Regions from separate parts of the Homo sapiens genome. Here region 1 is linked to region 2. The links are contacts of gene promoters, found by promoter capture Hi-C in blood cells and fetal thymus (Javierre and others, 2016). All regions are on one chromosome and are shown on one strand. Each heading gives the region's core, a stretch centred on a gene start or on the middle of the fragment in contact. The rest is flanking DNA. Distances are from core to core; before and after follow the strand shown. Region 1 overlaps ZHX3 (zinc fingers and homeoboxes 3). Region 2 holds the start of LPIN3 (lipin 3).

Region 1 (6,698 bases), core at 1,966-4,465, 100 kb before region 2:
TGCCATTTGACCCAGCCATCCCATTACTGGGTATATACCCAAAGGATTATAAAACATGCTGCTATAAAGACACATGCACATGTATGTTTATTGCGGCACTATTCACAATAACAAAGACTTGGAACCAACCCAAATGTCCAACAAAGATAGACTGGATTAAGAAAATGTGGCACATATACACCATGGAATACTATGCAGCCATAAAAAATGATGAGTTCATGTCCTTTGTAAGGACATAGATGAAGCTGGAAACCATCATTCTCAGCAAACTATCGCAAGGACAAAAAACCAAACACCGCATGTTCTCACTCATAGGTGGGAATTGAACAATGAGAACACACAGACACAGGAAGGGGAACATCACTCACCAGGGCCTGTTGTGGGGTAGGAGGAGTGGGGAGGGATAGCATTAGGAGATATACTTAATGTTAAATGAAGAGCTAATGGGTGCAGCACACCAACATGGCACATGTATATGTAACAAACCTGCACGTTGTGCACATGTACCCTAAAACTTAAAGTATAATTAAAAAAATAAAATAAAATAAAGAAAATATGTTTTATTAACAAACAGCATATTTTATAATGGCGGTGATCAATATTTATTAAACACAAGGTTCTAGAGGGCTCTTCTGGTAGGATAATTCTAAGAAAGAGGTTCCAGATGTCAACTTACATATTCCCTTATAAAACACAGCCCTGGCTTACACAGTATCTGGTGTACATGTCTCTTCTCTCCAATGAACTATAAGATCTTTGAGGTAAGGGTTCAGTGCTGCACCACTCAGCTACACTAATGGCAATGTGCACACAGTGAGCACTCATTAAATACATCAGTTACAGTTCACTTGCAGTTGCTTGCTTACTACCAAAAACCGGGGTCAATCATTATAAGCATTCCCATCCAACACCCAATTTGTTGCATGGGGAATGAACTTCAGTTTGGGTCCCTTGCTATTAAAGCACTCAATACCCATTATTTGTTTGCATTTATGTCGAACTCATAGATGCAGGATCTGAAAAGTTAAATGAAGCTTAACATAGGCATCCAAATAAAATTAATTAGAATTTATATCTCAACTATTTCTAACAGAGTTTGAGTAACAAGACTCAACAGAAGGAAAACAGGGTAATAACAGAGACTAAGAGGGAAAAAAAGGAAGGCAGCAGGGAGTGAAGGCTGGAGAAGAGAAGAAGGAAGGAAAAGAAGGAGGGACAGAGGGTGGAAACATCTATCTAAGCAAGAGCTTCTTCCTCAAGTCAAAAATTTCTGCAAAAAACAACATCTTTTTGGACAAATTTACATGATGCTTCTAACATCTGCTCATTGTGAAAAATGCAGGATAAAAACCTACAAATTCAGTATTTTTAGTATTTTTATCTAAATTTATATTTCATCAAAACAAGATAAATTTGAAAAATATTAATACATATATAGGCAAGACATTTCCTTACTTTGCGGAAATATGCTCACATAAATAATCCATTCTTTGCCAAAATAGAGCCCTTCCAACACCTGTTCCCCAATCTCCAAGGCAGGGTCTTGGTCCATGGGTTAGAATCACTAAAACACACAAAATACAAGGAAATGTATCTATTAAGCACCATTTGGATTCTAAGATGCAAGTAAGAAACCTAATTTGAAAGGGCTTACATAATAAAGGTGGTTTGCTGGCACATGCAAATGGAAAGTTCAGCGGCTTCAGGTTGAGTTTGAGTCAGTTGCTCTATGATGAAAACAAGGGCCTATTTTCTCTCTCTTTTTTTTTTTTTTTTTTTTTTTTTTGGGAGACGGAGTCTTGCTCTGTCGCCCAGGCTGGAGTGCAGTGGCATGATCTCGGCTCACTGCAAGCTCCGCCTCCTGGGTTCACGCCATTCTCCTGCCTCAGCCTCCCGAGTAGCTGGGGCTATAGGCGCCCACCACCATGCCCCGCTAATTTTTTTTTTTTGTATTTTTTAGTAGAAACGGGGTTTCACCATGTTAGCCAGGATGCTCTCGGTCTCCTGACCTCGTGATCCGCCCGCCTCGGCCTCCCAAAGTGCTGGGATTACAGGCGTGAGCCACCGTGCCTGGCCAATAAGGGCCTATTTTCTTTCTTTCTACTTCGTCAACCACATCCTAGGGGTAGCTTCCCTCGTGACAGCAAGGTAACTCCAGCAGCCCCAAGCTTCATGTCCCAAACATCCAGAAGGACACAGAGAGAGGGCCGTCTTGGGGAGGTCTATCAGAAGACTGAAGAGCCTTCTTCCCAAAGTCCTCAGCAAGCATGCTGGTGGCCTGCACAGGTCACATGCCCAGCCATGAACAAACCTCTTGGCATGACTGCCACTGGGTTAATCACTGTGCAACAGGTGTGGGGTTTACCTGACTGGGCTTAAACAATCAAGATCCATCCCTGGAGCTGGGGGTGGGACCAATCCTTCTCCTACCAGAAGACAGAAACAAACATTCCCTGTTTCCTATGGAAGGGACTGGGGAGGGAGGGAGAAGAGACATTGTGAGAAGGGGAACAATTAGAATGCCCTCCACCCTTCACCTGGCACTGAATTTGACCCTGTGATTCCCAGTATCAAGGGAAAATATGGAAATGTATTTTAAGTGACACTATTTTTATCGTTTAACAAAGACAAATGTTTATTCTTATACAGAGATAAATTCTTTTGAAGGGAAACCCAAGGAGAAGAATGTCTTGGAACTGTGTTTAAGAGAAAATAGGTAAAGCAGGAGGCTTAGTTTGGAAAGATGCAGTCACACTCAATAGGCCATTCCTTTTTTTTTTTTGAGACAGTCTCTTGCTCTGTTGCCCAGGCTGGAGGGCAGTGGCGCCATCTTGGCTCACTGCAACCTCTGCCTCCCAGGTTTAAGCGATTCTCCTGCCTCAGCCTTCCAAGTAGCTGGGACTGCATGTGCATGCCACCATGCCAGGCTAATTTTTGTATTTTTTTAGTAGAGATGGGGGGTTTTGCCATGTTGGCCAGGCTGGTCAACAGGCCATTCCTACATGGATCCTCCAGAAGGCAGAGCATGGGACAGTAAATCATATCATAATCCAGTGAAGTTACTTTGGCAGAGGGCTGAGATGATATAGCTCAGATGCTTTCCCTTCAAATCATCGAACTTACTGCAAAGAGTAGTAACTCACATATCTTAGAACCCCTTTTTTAATGTTTATTTTTGTAGGTACATGGTAGGTATATATATTTATGGGTTACATGAGATATTTTGGTACAGGCATGTGACGCATAATAATCACATCAGGGTAAATGAGGAATTCATCGCCTCAAGTATTTATCCTTTGAATTATACTGTTATTTGTAAATGTACGATTATTTTCTACAATAGTCACCCTGTTGTGCTGGCAAATACTAGGTCTTATTCAATTTTTTTGTACCCACGAACCATCCCTATTTCCCCCCCGTCACTCACCCTACTACCCTTCCCAGCCTCTGGTAACCATCCTTCTACTCTGTATCTCGATAAGTTCAATTCTTTTAATTTTTAGCTCCAACAAATAACTGAGAACATGCAAAGTTTGTCTTTCTGCTCCTGGCTTATTTCACTTAACATAATGACCTCCAGTTCTATCCATGTTGTTGCAAATGACAAGATCTCATTCTTTTGTATCGTTGAATAGTACTTCATTGTGTATATGTACTACAGTTTTCTTTATCCATTCATCTGTTGATGGGCACATAGGTTGCCTTCCAAATCTTGGCTATTGTGAATAGTGCTACAATAAACATAAGTATGCAGATATCTCTTCGATATACTAATTTCCTTTTTGGGGGTATATACCCAGCAGTGGGATGGCTGGATTGTATGATAGCTCTATTTTTAGTTTTTAGAGGAACCTCCAAACTGTTCTCCACAGTGGGAAATTACATTCCCAGCAACAGTGTACAAGGTGTCCCTTTTCTCCATATCCTCACCAGCATTTGTTACTTATTGCCTGCCTTTTGGATAAAGGTCATTTTAACTGGGGTGAGGTGATATGTCCTTGTAGTTTTGATTTGCATTTCTCTGATAAATGATGCTGAGCACTTTTTCCTATGCCCGTTTGCCATTTGTATGTCTTCTGAGAAATGTCTATTCAAATCCCTTGCCCATTTTTAATGGGATTATTAGATTTTTTTCCTATCGAGTTGTTTGAGCTCTTTATATATTCTGATTATTAATCCTTTGTCAGAAAGGTAGTTTGCAAATATTTTCTCCCATATTGTGGGTTGTCCCTTCACTTTGTTAATTGTTCCCCTTGCTGTGCAGAAGCTTTTTAACTTGATGTGATTCCATTTGTTCATTTTTGCTTTGGTTGCCTGTGCTTGTCCAGGTATTACTCAAGAAATCTTTGCCCACTTCTGTTTCATGGGTCTATGTGTCTGTTTTTATGCCAATATCATGCTGTTTTGGTTACTATAACTCTGTGTATAATTTGAAGTTAGGTAATGTGATTCTTCCAGTTTTGTTCTTTTTGCTCTGGATAGCTTTGGTTATTCTGGGTTGTTTGTGGTTCCAATAAAAATTTTTGAATTGTTTTCTCTATTTCTGTGAAGAATGTCATTCATATTTTGATAGAGATTGCATTGACTCTGTAGATTGCTTTGGGTAGTATGAACATTTTAACAATATTTATTCTTCCAATCCATGAATTAGACCCCTTATGTATCATATTTATAAAAGTAAGCTCAAGCACTTTAAAATCATGACCTCTAGAGTGTTTTAAATTACTGTCATTATCAGATTATCCTCTGAGTGTGCATGTGTGTGTGTGTACATGTGTGCACCTGTCATTATTTCAAATTTTAAAATATTTGAGTGCTACTAGATGCTCAGCTCTAAGAGACAGGGTACAAGGAGGAAGAGTTCAAAACTATAGTTGTCTCTGCCCTCAAGAAGTGTAACAACTACTACTACCATCAACTGGATAAAATTATAGGATGTCAGGCACTGTGCTTTACATTTATTTTCTCATTTAATTTGATCCTCACAATAACCCTATGAGCTAAATATCAACTTGATTTTCCAAATTGGGAAACCAAGGCTTGAATGGCTAAGTCATTTGACTCAGTCACACAAGCAACAGGCAACAGCAAGGATTCAAAGCCAGGTACTCCCAATTCCAAAGCCTAGATTCTTAACCACAGCACATCTGGCTGACAAGAAAACACAAACATCCATTAAGGGTGAGGAGTAGAAAGAGTATATTTACAGTGAAGAGCTAAGTCCTGAGATATGGAGTAAAGTGGCTTAGGAGAAATCAAAGAATGCAAATAGGGTGAGGAGGAGCCACATACACAGCTGTTAGCTTTGTGAACCCTGTGAACACTGATGCCTAACTGATCAAACACAATCTGTCTGCTGGCCTCTGACCCATGATCTACTAGTGTACTATGTCTTTAGCCACTGACAGAATGGAAAACCAATGACGTTTTGACAGGCCTTAAGACCTTTCAAAGTTATCTCCAAGGATGGAATCAGCTCTTTCCCTGATGTGGACAGACTTCTATTCTGTTCTAGACATAAGGCCATATATGGAGGAAGTTTGAAATCCTCTGGCCAAATACTAGATAGTACTTCCATTGTTTAATAATTAAGTGATTTTTATAACCCTATCCCTAAGAGCATATGGCAATTGTCTTTGCCCACAGGATCAACTGTCACTAACCTTTTAGCTTGGTGGAAAAAGCTAAATGTCTTATAATGTCTAAAAAAATGTAATACCACTTCCTCTGTGCTTGTCTCCATGTACCAGGAAGTCGTGGGTCTAAGTGGATGTGGTGTCCCTCTCATGCCTCAGCAGTCCCTTTACAAAGCAGCAGACTTCTGGGTACCCAGGTCGGGGCAGACCTCCCAACCTTCAGGGTATGCTTCTAGGTTCCCAGTGCTCCAAGAGAGGGAGAAATACTTCCTCTATAAAATAATGGGGAGTCAGAGGCATATGGGATTTCCCTTTGCTTCCATGAAATTAGGAGAAAGCACCAACACTTTCTAGTAATTCCACAGTGAATAGGATGTGCTACCAGCCCAGCATCAGTAGGGCTTCTCTTCATTCTCAAGAAGTGTAATTACCTGACGTGGCTGCCTGGAATTAAGATTGCCGCTATCAAGGTAATAAGAAACAGTTCCATTCTTCCCCATGAGCCAATTATTATCAGGGTCACATCTGGAACCTTGGCTTCATTTTCCCGATTCAATCCATATTTGAATGACCACTATGGACCAGGTTCTATGCTAACATCTCACTGACTCAAACAGTCTTAGGAAATGGATATTATTTCTGTCTTACCTATGTGGAAGCTAAATAAAGCTCAGGAAAGTTATATCTTTTGTCACAGAGCTGGACAATTATAGTTGGATACCAGACTGAATCTCCTGACACTATGTTCTGGGCTGACTCCACTATGTGCCACTGACTCCCGTAGTGCTGAGGTTTGGGGCCTTATAATATTATTATTATAATAACAATACATGGGATTTCAATGGTCATCCTCATAATCAAGCTCTTACTCTACTCTCAAAGGAGAAAGAACATATCATGTTGAAGGGGGCTATTAGAAGGCAAATGTGGTAAGTGCTGCAATGAATGGACACAAGCAGTTTAGAAACCCTATGACGAGGATCAACTCTGACTGGAGTGAGGATGAAGGAAAACTTAAGAGATGTGAAGCCATCCACTGGGGAGGAGATGCTTTTGAGGTTA
Region 2 (6,004 bases), core at 692-3,191:
AGGAGGCTGAGGCAGGAGAATGGCGTGAACCCGGAAAGTGGAGCTTGCAGTGAGCAGAGATGGTGCCACTGCACTCCAGCCTGAGTGACAGAGCGAGACTTCATCTCAAAACAAAAACAAAAACAAAAAAACAGAGATGGGGTTTCACCGTGTTGGCCAGGCTGGTCTCCAACTCCTGACCTCAGACGATCCGCCCACCTCTGCCTCCCAAAGTGCTGGGATTGCAGGCGTAAGCCACCTCACCCCAGCCGCAAATGCAATTTCTGCAACAACCTTTATATCAACTTTTTTTCCTCTAACAATGAACAATGAAAACAATTTGTGCTCCATCTTTAAAAATGTGTGACACAAAAATTTTTTAAATAAAAATAAATATGTGATAAACATTCCTGAATGCCTAGTGTGTGCCCTGGCGCTGTGCTCTGCATTTAATTTGGATCAGCAGTTCTCAGCCTTGTTTGTACATTACAACCAACTGGAGAGGTTTTTAAACTCCCAGTATCCGGGGCATCAGTATTCGTCTAGGGCACAGTGATTCTAACACACAGTCAAGGTTGAGAACCACTTATTTAATTCATCCTGTAAATCCTCACAATAGAATCCTGCAAGGTAGCTTTTATCACCACCTTTGCCGATGAAATTGAGGCTCAAAGAGGTAAATTGATTTCGGCATCTGTAGCCCCAACCTGTGACCTCTCCTTCCTTCCTTCTCGGGCTCCCTTCAGGGATTTCCTGATGTTACAGAAAATGGTATGTATGACGCTGCCCTCCTGGCCACCTTGACATAGCTCTGCTCCCAACAGGGCTCTTCTGAGATAGCAGCCAGACACTACCTGGGATCAGGACTGATACTAAATGACTTCTGCCAAAATGAGGACAACTGAGGCCAGTCACTTCCAAACAGGTTCTGTCACCCTGAGTCAGAATAATGGCAGCTACCTCTCCTCCTCACCGCCCAGTCGTTTCTAAGCCTGGCTCGTCGCCGTTGCTGCTCCGCCAAGCCTTTCCTCGGTGCCCTCTCTCTTTTAGAACAAATTACTTCATCTCCAGGCCCTTCTCAGGGCAGCTTCTTTGCAGGGGCCATAGGGCGTCGGAAAGGTCTTTGGTCCAGGAAAGCCGCGAGCCACAGATCCAAGAGGAAAAAGCCGTTCCCGGCCCGGGCCTTGCCCAAGGCACGAGAGTAAATGCACCTTCCGCGTGCCTCGGCGCACCTGGGCTCACCTGTCCCCTCCCGCAGTGCCTGCAGACAGGGAGGGAGCGCGGCTGGGCCAGAAGGCTGATCACCGCCTGCCCCCTGCTGGCCAGTGTCAGTATTGAGCCCGCTGCCGCTCGACCAGAACGTCCCAGGGATGGAATGAAGGTGCGGGCATTTATGGAGCGCCTGCTGTTTGTCAGGCGAGGTACTGATAAGCGCTGGAGTGTAAGGATGTACGTGACCTGCTCTCAGAGTTCAAATTTAAATGAAGAGATATACATTAATCAAGTAGTCATTCAAGCAAATATGAAATTACAACTGTGGGCTATGCGAACAGATGACGCGAGGGGCCTGTCCAGTCTGGGAGATACGGGTGGGTTCAGGAAAAGCTGCCCCCAGGAGGGGACGTTTGAGCGCCAGGAGCCGCGCAAAGTCATTTCATGTCATCTCTAAAATCCTGCAAGGCGGCTTTCCCCCTTGACAAAACAGGAAATGGGATCAAATTGAGGAAGGAATTCACCCAAGATCACACAGCAAGCTGGAAGCAAATCTGGGAGGAGCTAGGTCCGCCCCGTTCCGAAATCCACACTTTTCTGGAGGTGGGGCAGGCGGTGGCACAGGGACTTGGGGCGGGGTCTGGTGGGCGGGGCATGAAGTCTGGCCCCGCCCCCGCCTCCGAGGCCAAAGGGCGCCCTGGGCGGGGATCGGAGCAGGGGCGGGGTCTTTCCAGGGAGTGGAGCCTGGGCAGATTGGGGCCTGTGGAGGCCGCACTAGGATCGTAGAAGGAGTGGAGCCGTGCTCTCACCCTGTCTTAGAGGACCCGGAAGCGCCAAGTGACTGAGGGCCGAAGACACTCACCTGTGGAGCCTGTGCACGTAGGTAGAGGCGGCGGCTCTGAGTCCAGGAGCTCCAGTGGGCAGCTCCCCAGGTAGGGCCCAACTCGGGGGGAGAAGAGATGACCCTCTCCCCTCCCGCCCTGCCCATCTGTCCTGCCATCCTACATTCCTTCCTTCCTGTCCGCGGGCCTGGGTCCACCCCTAGCTGTAAGATGGGGACGCAGGGGTGGAGGGACTGGCCTCATTTTGTCCCTTTTTCCCTGGCCCAGCGGCTGCAGGCCCCCTGGACACCCAGAACGTAGAGTCTGGAGAGGAGACGTCGAAACCTCCCAGGGGAGGCTGGCCCAGCTTTACCCCAGCCTGACTGTGTGACCTTGAGGAGGACAGCCACTTTCTCTGGTACCCAGTGTCCTCAGTTGCAAAACAGTGACTGGCCCTTGCCCTGCTTGCCCTGAGACTGGGCAGATCAGATGCTGTAGCTGCTGGGGGCTGGGGTGGCGCTTTCTCTCTACTGGGGCACTAGGAGTGCTTACTCTCCTGCTCCCTCTGGTCCTCGGTGGAGAGCCACACCCTTCATCCACCCAAACCTGGGAGCCCCGAGGGCTGAGAGCCTAGTCCTAGGGCAGCTTGCTCTGGCTTCCCTGTGCTAGAGTTGTAGTCTAGCCTGGAAGGCCTGTGAACATCCCCAAGGTGGGGTGTGAGGCCTACGTGGAGTGCACATGCTCGTTTTGCAAATAGTGGTGCCACCATTGTGCATGGCCTTGAGTGCCAAGTTAAGAAGTCCAAACTCCGCTGGGCGCGGTGGCTCACGCCTGTAATCCCAGCACTTTGGAGACTGAGGCGGGTGGATCATGAGGTCAGGAGATCGAGACCATCCTAACACGGTGAAACCCCGTCTCCACTAAAAATACAAAAAATTAGCCGGGTGTGGTGGCACACGCCTGTAGTCCCAGCTACTCGGGAGGCTGAGGCAGGAGAATTGCTTGAACCCAGCAGGCGGAGCTTGCAGTGAGCCAAAATCATGCCACCGCACTCCAGTCTGGGTGACAGGGCAAGACTCCATCTCAAAAAAATAAATAAATAAAAGAAGTCCAAACTCTCAACTGCTGGCAGGGGCAGTTCATCAGAGTATGACCTGCAGTGCCCACAGGACCAGCCTGCATGAGTGGGGCTGTCATGATGCTGCTGCTGATAGGTGTACATACAGGTTTTTATTGCATTCCAGGGCTTTACACAAAGTCATTAGTTACTCACACGTGCCTGATGTTATTCCCATTTTGGAGGCTGAGACTGAGGGTCAGAGAGATGAAGTCACTTGCCCATGGTCACAGCTAGCAAATGGCGGAGTGGGGATCAGCACCCAGATAATCTGGTGCCTTTTCTCCTAATGTCCTGTGGCCACCCGTGATCTGGGCATCTGGTTATAAAGTCTTAACCTAGGACAGCTGGAGAAAGGAGGGGCTGGATGAGCAGGAAATTGGGGGAGAAGATTCAGAGGGCTAGGGAGGGAGAGAGGGGTAGTGACTAGTCCTAAGGGGTATTCGGCTTCCTGGGAAGGTGTGAGGAGTGAAGTGGCTGATTTTAGACATGTTAGTTTGTGGGTGGAGGGTGATAGAGGGGAGCCAAGCAGAGCTCTCCTCTGTCTGGAAAAGAACAAGGAGGTAGAGCTGGGTCCTGGGAAAAGGGGGTGCCTAAGGGATAGGTGAAGACAGAGGCGGGCTCACAGAAGGCCCCCAAAATGCTGAGCAGGCAGATGTGGGGGGGCTCACTGGAAGCCCCCAAAATGCTGAGCAGGCAGATGTGGGGGGCTCACAGAAGGCCCCCAAAATGCCGAGCAGGCAGATGTGGGGGACATCCATTGGTGAAGTGGGGGGAACAGAGAGAGGAGAGAATTCTGGACTCCCGTGACATTAGATCTGAGGGAGATGGGTCTAAAAAACTGAGGCCTTGGTTCACAGAAGGGGAAACTGAGGCCAGCCAGTTACTTGCCTGAGAATACTCCAGGGCTGGATCCGAGTAGGACCCCGGGTGCCATCTCTGCTATTCGGCCCTTTCTACTAGATCGTGGTTCTCAGCTGGGGGCAATTTTGTCCCCCAGGAGACATTTAAAAATGTCTGAAGACAATTTGGCTGTCACAACCTGGAGCTGCGGGGGATGAAGTGCTACTGGCATCTAATGGGCAGAGACCAGGGATGCTGCTGAATATCCTACAGTGCACCCACCCACCCCCCAGCAAAGAATTATCTGGCCCCAAAGGACAGTAATGCTGAAGCTGAGAAACTGCACTAGGGCTTAATAGGGCAGAAAGCTCAGGCTTGGGCCTCCAGCTGGATGGACCTTTGCCCCAACCCCGGCTCTGCCCCTCCCCATGCTTGCTCCTTAATTCCTGGAAGCCTCTGGAGTCCTCTCTGCTTTTCCTGGGCACAGTGGTTTAGAGGTCTGCCCACCAAGTGTCTGTCACCACTCTGTCTCCCCAGACCTGTATTCAGAGTTTGGCATTAGGTAGGGAGAAACCAAAGTGGAAATGTCCCATCTAGCACATGGCAGGTGCCTTGCAGATAAACTTGATTTGAGTGACATCTTAGGGGTCCAGGGAGTTTCATTTCATCCCATTTTCACTTTGGCAATTTGAATTGTGTCTTATGTTTGTGACGCTCTGACATAGACTGAAAGAATCCACTGCTTCATCCGATGTCCTAGGATGGGCAGGATGTGGCATTATCTGAGAAATGCTGTGGAGGTGGGGGTCTTGTCGTTTAGGCTCTTCCAAGAGTAGACTGTGGACTGGGAACACAAAAGCAGTTCCTTTCAAACACATGAAAGGCTGCAGGAATCACCTCGGGATCCTGTTAAAATGCAGATGCTAGGCCAGGTGCAATGGCTCACGCCTGTAGTCCCGGCACTTTGGTAGGCCAAGGTGGGAGGATCACTTGAGTCCAGGAGTTTGAGACCAACGTGGGCAACATAGTGAGACCCTGTCTCTACAAAAGAAATTTAAAAGTTAGCCAGTTATGGTGGTACATGCCTGTAGTCCCAGCTACTCAGGAGGCTGAGGCAGGAGGATCACTAGAGCCTGGGAGGTTGAGGCCGCAGTGAGTCATTTTGGTGCCACTGCACACCAGCCTGGGTAACAGAGTGAGATCCTGTCTCAAAAAAAAAAAAGAAAAGAAAAGAAAAGAAAAATATGCAGATGCTGATTCAGTAGGGCTGAGTTGGGCCTAAGTTTCTGTTTCTAACAAGCTCCCAGGTGATGCTGATGCTGATGTTTGTTGCTGGTGCATACCACATTTTGAGTGCAGGGCATTGCAGGGCTGTGCAGAAGTGGCCATGGGCCATGCAACCAACTCTTGGGTGGTTTGGAAGCATGGAGTGGAAGGAGACCATGCTCTAGAGTCAGGAGAGCTGGATATGAGTCTTTACTCCCTCTCTCCCCTCCCTATACCCCTTCTATGGCCTGTCAGCTTAGAAGAGCTTGAATAGTTTCCTCACCTGTAAAGTCACTTAACCTTGGGTAAGTCACTTAGCTTCTTTGCTAAGTGGTCTTGCATGGCAGGCTGTCCTCCAGGGGTTCTGACCCAGGGTCTGAGAGAAGAAAGTGCTCTGTAGAGATAGGACAGTCTGGGTCTTGGCAGGCAGAGGGGCAGCAGGCCACTGGCCTGGCCAGGAGGGCAGGGGTGATCACCTGAAGCTGCTGGGGCAGGCACTGTGCCAGCTTGGAGGAGGCTCTCATCATAGCCCTGTTTTTTCTCTGAGGCCGCCTCAGCCTCCTGCTTTGGGCTTACCCAGGCCTGTCTGGTGTGGGAAAGCTGGAGAGACCGGTCTGGCTGGGGGAGGGAGCAGCTTCAGTGGGCTGAGGCCAGCCCAAGGCCTGATTGTGGGTCTGAGCGCCTAGCCAGCTCAGCCCTGGTCTGAGGAGCTGGGGTTAGGGTTGAAATTGGGGTCTGAGAACTATAGCCTGGACACCGCTGGGGT

Evidence for each region. The method cuts DNA at HindIII sites, captures the fragments that hold promoters and counts their contacts. A CHiCAGO score of 5 or more calls a contact.
Region 1: a contact is called between a fragment that was not itself captured here and the fragment with the promoter of LPIN3 in region 2, in 5 of 17 cell types (non-activated CD4 T cells, naive CD4 T cells, endothelial precursors and 2 more). The highest score is 6.0, in non-activated CD4 T cells.

The regions. Positions count from the first base shown.
Region 1 is chr20:41,237,233-41,243,930 of GRCh38, forward strand. All of the region lies in intron 2 of ZHX3 (zinc fingers and homeoboxes 3), which reads right to left. Among named protein-coding and RNA genes, the nearest start is that of MIR6871, 72 kb to the left of the region's middle. The HindIII fragment of the contact is 2,099 bases long and covers 2,167-4,265 here.
Region 2 is chr20:41,338,880-41,344,883 of GRCh38, forward strand. It overlaps LPIN3 (lipin 3), which reads left to right and starts at 1,942. Exons shown (of 20, transcript NM_022896.3): 1 at 1,942-2,123. RefSeq lists an enhancer at 1,554-1,603 and a silencer at 1,764-1,923. The HindIII fragment of the contact is 12,951 bases long and covers 1-6,004 here.